Linked DNA regions of Homo sapiens: all the other regions are linked to region 3. The links are contacts of gene promoters, found by promoter capture Hi-C in human tissues and cell types (Jung and others, 2019). All regions are on one chromosome and are shown on one strand. Each heading gives the region's core, a stretch centred on a gene start or on the middle of the fragment in contact. The rest is flanking DNA. Distances are from core to core; before and after follow the strand shown.

Region 1 (2,961 bases), core at 301-2,800, 330 kb before region 3:
TCTCCACACAGTGGAGTCATGAGGCCAAAAGTTGACCTCTCCAGCCACACCCTGGCTTGGGCTGAGGTCTCTAGCTCCTGGCCTGCCTCAGGCTCTTCTCCCATGGAGGGGCACCCCACCCCCCACTCCCAGATGACACACACTCTGACTCAGATAGCCTGTCCTCATCCTTCCGGCCGTGACCCAGGGGGCTGTGGTGGGGGTGGAGGAAGGGGAGGAACAGTCCAAGGAAAGGGTGATCCCATCTCTCTTGTCTCTGGGGCTCACCATGAAGTCAGCGGAGTCCCAGCTGCTGATGTCAGGAGCGAATAGGACTAACAACCCACATGTATTGAGTGCTTGCTCTGCACCAGCACCACACAAGTGCCTTACATCCATAGCCTCCTCGAGTCCTTATCATAACCCTTTGAAGCAGGGGTTGAAATGATGCCCATTTCACAGATGAAGAAACTGAGGCCCAGAAATTGAAGTCCCTTGCCCAAGGTCACAAGGCTGGTCACGGCTGAGACAGGACCTCAGAGCTGGCTGCATCTCTCTGTAACCTAGGCTGCTCCAGCAACTGAGCCAGCTCCCAAATGCTCTATTGTGCTCCCTCAAAACCCCCTACCCGCCTAATGCCACACGCAGGTGCAAGACCCCTACCACGGGATGCCCAGAAGAATGAGCCGCCTCCAGCCCCCAACCCAAAAGAGAAGAGGAGCAGATTCCCGGGGGCCCTCCGGCTAAGCAGGCACCAGCCTCCAACCGGAAATTAACTCAAAGGAAGAAGGGAGCCGACTCTGGATGCAGAGAGATGAGGCTGATTGTTTTCTGTTCTTCATTAAGTAACAAAGGGAAAAACCAACTGTGCATGGTGTGTGAGCTTCCCCACCGGCACCACCCCAGACTCCTGGAACATCTTTATCCACTTACCCAGGGATTCAGGAAATTCTCTTCCAAGCCAGTTTTATTGGAGATTTTGGAAGCAAAGCTCACAGTCTCCCAATCAATAACAGATGAACAATGCTCACATTGCATTTTTTGGGGAGGACGTTTAGCCCGGGCTTGTCCCATCTGAAGAGCCTGCCCTTGGACATCCCTATTTGATCAGACATTGCTGGGAAATGAACTTCAGGGCAATTCTAGAAACCAGAGTCATTGGCATGAGGGTGCAGCAGGAAGGGGCGTCCTGGTCTGGGCCAGGCCTGGGGAAGCCCCATGTCTTGCAAAGGTTAGGGTCTGACCCCCCAGGTTCTCCCTGGCCTCAACTCTCTCCCCCGCCTCCTCCCTGGCTTATCCTCCACATGTGCTCTGCATGGGTATCGAATCTGCAGCCCATAAAGAATCAATCAAATCCAGTCTGGGCTCAGCCAAGGGCTGCAGCGCCAAAGTGCTAATGGAGGAAGGCCGGGCAGCCAGAGGGGATGGCAGGCCTGGCGGTGCAGTGGCGATTTCAGCATCAGCCTTCTTCCCACCCACACTCCATCCCATAGATACACGGAGCTGCAGAAGATGGCCCAAGAATGGGAACTGGGACCAACTCGTGATTCTCCATCTCCGCCTTCTCCACAGCTGGAGGGGTTGGGAGGGGTTGTGGGAGGGGAGCAGGGACACCTCCAGGGGACATAACACTTTTGTTACCATCAGACCATCTACAGTGAGAACAAACTACTTAGAGTGGGAAGCAGAGTCCACAGCTCATATCCTTCCTCTCAGCAACACTTATTGAGCACCTACAGCATGCCAGGCAGGGGGAGGGTAAAGTCCAGGCAACTCCCGTTTGCTGGAGTTTACATTCTAGCAGGTTTATTCAGCATCTCTGTCAAGAGAAAAGAAAAACCAAGAAAAACTATATACATTTTGGGACCCATCAAGGCATGACGGTTTTTTCCTAGTGCCATTTTGGAGATTCCATCACTCCCATGGCCAGGTCATTCATGCCATTCCCAACCTGTCTGTCAAAAAATCTGCTAAATATGTTGGCCCTGCCTGAGTCATGCCCATCATCTGGAAGATATTTGTTGAGCACCAACTAGGTTCAGGGCCCTGGTGGACATATGTTCTGGAAGCAAGAGGCAGGCCAGAATTGGAGCACCCAGTGGTGAAAGGCATGCTGAGGGGCTGTAGGAAAGCTTCAGTCTGAAGAGAGGGAGCCCCTCCACAGCAGGGCGGAACCAGCCCAGGTCCACAAGGCACAAATTCTTGTGCAAGCCCAACTCTGCCAGTGAATCACTATGTGACTTTGGGCCAATCTGTGTTCTCCTCTGAACCTCAGTTTCCCCATCTATAAAATGCGATGATGCACATATGAGTGTTCTCCAGGTACGGTCTTGCTTCAGAATCATCTCAGGGTGTGGGAGTTGGTGAAAATGCAGGTTCCTGGGCCCCACAGCAGGCCTCTGGCAAGGGTCCTCAGGAGGTGGGTCTAGGAGTCTGCATTTGTAACACATTCCCCTTGGGGTTTCCGATGTCCCAAAGTTTGAGCAAGACTCCTGGAGGAGACAGTGTCCAAGTGCTTGGCAAACGGGTCAATTCTGCTACAAAAGAAGGCAGCTGATAGGGGTGCAGATGGTCAAGGGAAACTCCCTGGAGGGGGCAGAAATGAGCTGGGCCTGAAAGCCTAATAACAGGAACGATAATCGTGCTATTGCTTGTGAAATGGCTTTCAAGCACAAGCCCTGTGCTAAGTGCTTTATGTGCATTACTTCATTTAACCATCATGATAGCCCTGGAAGAGAAGACTTCTTATCCCCATTTCATAGACGAGGAAGCTTAGGCTCTCCAATGGTTAAGTGACTTGCCCAAGATATTTGGATGCCCTCTGAGACACACTGCCAAATCCTCCCTAACAAAATACCACAGGCTACTCAGGGACCTCCTGAAACCTGGAGCCATAGAGGAGGCCTTTCTGGAACAGAAGGCTTTGGTACCTGAGGCCTAGAGGACAAGAGTGGCTTGTTTCCTAGCATACATATTTCACTC
Region 2 (3,166 bases), core at 100-2,599, 440 kb before region 3:
AAAACAGCCACCAAGTGATTTGCAGAGCTCCTACTCTGACCTCTAAAACTGAGGAAGAAATAACATAAGCCTATAATGATCACCAACAGCAAATCAGTGTTCTTTTGAAGTATATTAATGATATTGCCATCAAAAGATTAGAACAAGAAATGGAAAAAAAGAAATGTTGAACGAATGCATGTATAACAGACATTTCTTCATCACCTGTTACATGCCACATACTTTTAGGTACCAATGTTAAAAAAAATGCATAAGACACAGTTCAACTAAGTATAAAGGTGACACTAATAACTTGAGTATTGCTGATCTAAGGAATAACGTTACTCCTCTGTAGCCAAAGTTAAGTGGAGAGGAAGCTTTAAGAGAAAATGAAGAGGTGTGTTTAGAAGCTATCAAGGTAACAAACTAATGACAAAAATGATGGATTGAACAGTTAAGAGAACACGCAAGTGCAAAAATATAAAACCATAATGTCCTTCAGCATAATCAGTACAAAGAGTACCAAGGATTTATGACTTGAAACCTCCCAAAGAGAGTCATCAGGGTTAGCCTAGCCTTGTAAATAGCTTGTCTCCCAAGAAAACAATGTATAGTCGACTGTCAGTTAACACAGCTAAAATAAATACTAGACCTTGAATTTGTTTTTTAAAAAAGTTGCTATGAATCAGGAAAACATTTAATTATTAGAAGGCATGTATTACTTGGACTAATACAAAATTGCCTATAGCAACATGGGAGGATCGGCCCACACTACCCCCTACCAATCAGAGGAGCAAGCCTGCCGGGGCAGCGCCCTCTCACTCTGCCAGCAGCCTCTCAGAAAGGGGAAGCAGGGCTGGGAGAAAAGGGAAATAAATGGAATTCTAAATTGGTTGTGGAGTCGAATCCTGCAGGGTCAGGTGTGAAGAATCAAGTATTGAGAGATCACACAGGTGGAAATGCGTCTCAACTGAGTTACTTAAAAAAAGAGGTCAGCTAAGAAAGCATGATAGCCATTTGGCAGTTTCCTGTCAGGCGATTCCTAAGCACTTATATATATATGCATCACTTTTACCCTGTTGGGAGGCAGTATAAACTCAGTGTGTAAGGGAGCAGCTCTAAAGTTAGAATGCTGAGGTTTCAATTCTGGCTCAGGGTCATATGAGCTCTGTGACCTTCGCCAAATTACACCACCTCTTTGAGACAGTTTTCTCATGCATAAAACAGGACTTAACAATAATACTCACACTGATGATTTTTGTGAAAATTAAATGCGGTAACACATATGCCAAGCTTAATACAGGAAGTGTTCGTTGAATGTTTACTATTACTGTTTTTATGTCTGAAAATGGCCACTGTTATTCCTAAATATTAGATGCATTTTACCAATAATTTATAAGTTTATATAAAGTCCTTTTTGTTCATGTTTTGAGTATCTGTTGTTTTGTTTTAATTTTAATGGTTTAAGTCTCAGGTTTGAGGTTATACATGGCTACCTTCTTAATCTTATCTGTGATTAATCAGGAGTAAATGGTATGATCAGTTAAGTATTCTGGATCAAAACTGGTTAGAAGCTAGGATTCTCCTGGTGATCAAGATGTAATGTCATTTTGAAAGTATCCTGCCTAAGTACTTTTGCAAGACTGCCCTTTAGGGAATAAATGTCCAAAAAAAAAAAAAAATTAAAGTTTCAAAACATTGAAACCCTGGGCTATTTCTGCCCCATATAAAAAGTTAGTAAGGTATCCTGAGAACACTAAACTAGCAAACAAGTACAAAAGTCAGAGGTGCCTACCTCCTTCTGTGGACCTTTAATTTCTGAACACATTTCTAGTTTTTTTAAAACATCCTGGGTAACCATGAGTGCATCTGAGAAGACACCTTCATTTTCTAGAAGAAAATTCAGCTGGTAGTGTTTCCTTTCACATCCTAAATGTAGAACAAAATAAAACAAATCAGAAATTCATTACTTGAAATAAATTTTTACAAGTTTAAGCTGTCTGAGCACCTTCAGGTCATATACTGCACTTAACTGATCTCTGTCTAGCACATCAGTTATGAATAACAGACAACAGTATCTCTCACAGCTTCCTCCTTTGTGCTGTCCTCAGCCTGGTTAAAATAGCAGATAATCAGCAGGGCACGGTGGCTCACGCCTGTAATCCCAGCACTTTGGGAGGCTGAGGCGGGTGGATCATGAGGTCAGGAATTCGAGACCAGCCTGGCCAACATGGTGAAATCCCATCTCCACTAAAAATACAAAAAATTAGCTGGGCGTGGTGGCACATGCCTGTAATCCCAGCTACTCAGGAGGCTGAGGCAGGAGAATTGCTTGAACCCAGGAGGCGGAGGTTGCAGTGAGCTGAGATCATGCCATTGCACTTCAGCCTGGGCAACAGAACAAGACTCCGTCTCGAGAGAAAACAAAACAAAACAAAACGAAACAGATAATTATCGAAATGGTACGTCATTATTCCAATACTGCTTTTCTGCTCTGTAGTTCATGTTTGGACTTTCAATGTTCAAAAACACAGACACTTTTAAAAGAATGGCCCAGTACGGTACTGCACTGAATTTTGGTTTTCTACCTAACAGTGGTCTTTGATAAATTTATTAATCAAACATTAAAACTGATAAAGATCATTGAAAACAGAAGGATGGAATATAAAACAATGACTGTTACCTGGTTCTGTGCTTGTCTTCTTTGCCTCACTAAAGGTTTGCACAGCAGGGGAGGGGGAACAAGCTTCAGCTGTAGTAGGAGTCTCCGCTGGGGTTTCTGCATTCCTCTGGCTCTCCTGGGCTGTGGGAGAATTCACACTCATCTCTTGTGAAACTGAATGGGCTGCTTCCTCAGTCTCAGCTTTCACAGGGCCCCCTGGAGTGGCAGCAAGCTCTGGGGAAGAATGAGGCTCTCCAGCACCTTCAGATGAAAGGATTTCTACTTGAGGCTTCTCTGGTTCCTTTCTGAATGTCTCTGAGGATGGCGCAGAGACATCCCTTACCACCTGACCCTGAACCGAGCAGTTTACAAGGCTGGTCAGAAGATTTTTGCAGCTAACAGCTACATCAAACATCTGTAGACTGTCTGCTAAGGAGATGATTTTGGAGAAGTTGTGCTTGCCCACAGGTAGTTTGCCCGTGTACATCATTTCCAACAAGAGCGCAAACTCCTCGGGGCTCACCA
Region 3 (2,802 bases), core at 144-2,643:
GCATAAACTGATCCTCTTTTCAACACAACTTCACCACAAAAAGTGCACTTGAATCAACCTAGGGAGATTCCCAGCATGCAGTAAGTCATAAAGGAGAATAAACAGTCTGGGAAAGTCATTTTGGACCGAAAAGTGTTCCCACAAATAAACCCACCTCATTCTAGTATAGTCAAAGGGACCTCTATTTAAAGTTAATGCCACGCAAGGGGCCGTGGACGGTGTTGTCTTACACTTTATTCCCTGACACAAACTAATCCTGGGATTTTAAACCTTCCTAGCTTTTAGGTGCACTGAAGGCGGTCATGAACACAAGTAACAAGCTTTCAAAACATCATCTGTGAATACGACGTGTTGGGAAGCAGGCAGGATAAGCCACTGGGTGACCGACTAAGGCTGCAAAATGCTGTTTGAATTTAAGTCCCTGACTTGTAGGAGTTAAGTCTCACTCCTTATACCGCGATGACGTAATCTTCCACACTACATTTATCTTGGACTTAAAGGGGAGGAAAAACAAACGAACAAAGAAAATTCCCCCCCGATAAGAGGAATTAACCAAGCAGCAGAACGACGGCTTCGGGAGGTAGTTAGGTAACTCCCCGAAAGGGAAGCTTCAGCTAAACCGGCAGGGAGCGGGCTGGAGGAGCGGATGGAAATGCTAGGAACTCGACCTCCGAAAGGAAGAGCAGCCTGGAGGCCGTGGCTCGGGGCCACCCCGCCCAGAGGACGCGGCCGGCGCGGAGGGGAGCTCGGACAGGCACCGCCGCGAGCAGCCAGCGAGCTGCCCTCCTGCCACCGCCCCGCCGCGGCCGCAACGCCACTCCCCTCCCCCGCCCCCCCACCCCCGCCGCAAAATGTCCGCGGCGGCGCCCGGCGAAGCAGGAAGTCCAGGCCGGAGCGCAGGGCACGGAACGCAGCCTGCCAGCACGGAAGACCGGCGCCCGGCCCGGCCCAAGCGCCCGCGAGTCGCTCTGAGGCCCCCGGCCGCCCTTAGGAGCCCGCCGGGCCGGGCTGGGGGGAGGGGAGCCCGGGCGCCCAGGATGGGTGTGACCCCCTTCCTTCCGCCGCTGCCGGTGACAGCCCGGTCCCGCTCGCGCCCCGAGCCCCGGCCGCGCGCCCCTCCTCAGACGGGCGCCCCCTGCCTCCCCGGCCGCGACCCCCGCCCCGGCTCCCCCACAGAACGCGGACCCGCGCCCGCCCGGAGGACGCAGCGCGAGCCGGGCACTCCCCCACAACCCGTGCTCCCGGGCCCCCCACGATCCCGCAGACGGGGTGTCCCCGAGGACTGGGAGAGGACGGAGACGGCGGGGATGGGAAGGTAGGGTGGCAGCTCCCGCGGGGAACCTCGGGCCCCGCACTCACCTCAGCTTCTCCACCGGGGCGTTGGCAGCACTGCGCGGGGTCTCCTCGGCTGCCGGACAGGGGCACGCACCTGACGTCAGCGCGCAGGAGACGCACAGTTGGGTGCCCGCGGAAGTGGGAGGAACAGGGAAGGGGAAGAGGCTGGGGCGGGTCAAGGCGGTGCCTGGACTGCCCTGGCTCCGCCCGCCTGTCGCGCACGCGCGGGCCGGCGCAGCTCGTGAGTTCGGGGCTATGCTCTGCATGTTTTCCTAATGGTTGTATTTGTAATAATACTGTGAACGATAGTATGCAAAGCGCTTCCTCTACCAGTTCTTTTTTGTTTGTTTTTTCTGAGACAGTCTTGATCTGTTGCCCAGACTGGAGTGCAGCGCGCGATCTCAGCTCACTGCAACCTCCACCCCTTGGGTTCAAGCGATCCTCCTGCCTCTGCCTCCCGAGTAGCTGGGATCACTGGCACCTGCCACCACGCCAGGCTAATGTTTGTATTTTTAGCAGACACGGGGTTTCACCATTTTGCCCAGGCTGGTCTCGAACCCGTGACCTCAAGTAAGTGATCCACCTGCCTCGACCTCCCAAAGTGCTGGGATTACGGGCGTGAACCACCGCGCCCGGCCCACTACCAGTTCTTTTGATCCTTGCAAGCTTGTGAAGCAAGGTATTGTCCCATTTTGCAGAGAAGACGGAAGCTTCTCTGAAAGGGCTGGTGACTTGCCCCAGATCACAGGGGTGGATGGTCTCTCACTCCCCGGGCCTGTATTCAGTCCGCCGTGATGTGAGAACTGAGTATCACTCTTCTTATCTCTACCTACACCCAGTGTCCCTCGCTGTAGCCACATGGGTCTTTTTTAGAGTTACAACCTTCCCCCAACCACAGGCCTTGTGTTTTTGTTGTTGTTGTTGTTGTTGTTGTTGTTGTTTTTTCTTTGAGACGTTCTTGCTCTGTCACCCAGGCAGGAGTGCAGTGGCACGATCTCAGCTCACTGCAATCTCGACGTCCCGGCGATTCTCCCACCTCAGCCTCCCAAGTAGCTGGGACCACAGGCGCATGCCACCATGCCTGGCTAATTTTTGTATTTTTTTGTAGACACAGGGTTTTGCTGGATTGCCCAGGCTGGTCTCGAACTCCTGGACACAAGCTATCAGCCTGCCTCAGCCTCCCAAACTGCTGGGATTACAAGGTGTGAGACATTACGTCTGGCCAAGGCCTTGAATTTCTTTGCTCTGCCTCCCTCCTCTTCCCCCAAATTTATATCACTGCATTCTTCAATCATCCTATCTTCGCAGTATCTATTATTTGTCTTCTCTGCTAGTATGAAAGCTTCAGGAAAATAGAGAACTTCCCTCTCTTATTCTTAGATGTTTCCCCATGTTAGAGAAAAATCGCTTAAATTGCTTATCCTAGGCCGGGCACGGTGGCTCATGCCTGTAATCGCAGCACTTTGG

The links. The method cuts DNA at HindIII sites, captures the fragments that hold promoters and counts their contacts. A contact is called where the count stands out against the background at its distance.
Region 1: a contact is called between a fragment that was not itself captured here and the fragment with the promoter of CDC42 in region 3, in 2 of the 25 tissues and cell types used here (IMR-90 fibroblasts and bladder).
Region 2: a fragment that was not itself captured here is called in contact with the fragment with the promoter of CDC42 in region 3 in 2 of the 25 tissues and cell types used here (heart left ventricle and hippocampus).

The regions. Positions count from the first base shown.
Region 1 is chr1:22,377,690-22,380,650 of GRCh38, reverse strand. No RefSeq gene overlaps it. Among named protein-coding and RNA genes, the nearest start is that of ZBTB40, 73 kb to the left of the region's middle. The HindIII fragment of the contact is 5,446 bases long and covers 1-2,961 here.
Region 2 is chr1:22,490,142-22,493,307 of GRCh38, reverse strand. It overlaps ZBTB40 (zinc finger and BTB domain containing 40), which reads right to left. Exons shown (of 18, transcript NM_014870.4): 2 at 2,663-3,166; 3 at 1,775-1,908. Among named protein-coding and RNA genes, the nearest start is that of ZBTB40, 40 kb to the right of the region's middle. The HindIII fragment of the contact is 3,271 bases long and covers 1-2,984 here.
Region 3 is chr1:22,051,300-22,054,101 of GRCh38, reverse strand. CDC42 (cell division cycle 42) reads right to left here and starts at 1,393. Exons shown (of 6, transcript NM_001791.4): 1 at 1,360-1,393. RefSeq lists enhancers at 1-404, 405-972 and silencers at 685-864, 875-1,094, 1,155-1,304. The HindIII fragment of the contact is 8,517 bases long and covers 1-2,361 here.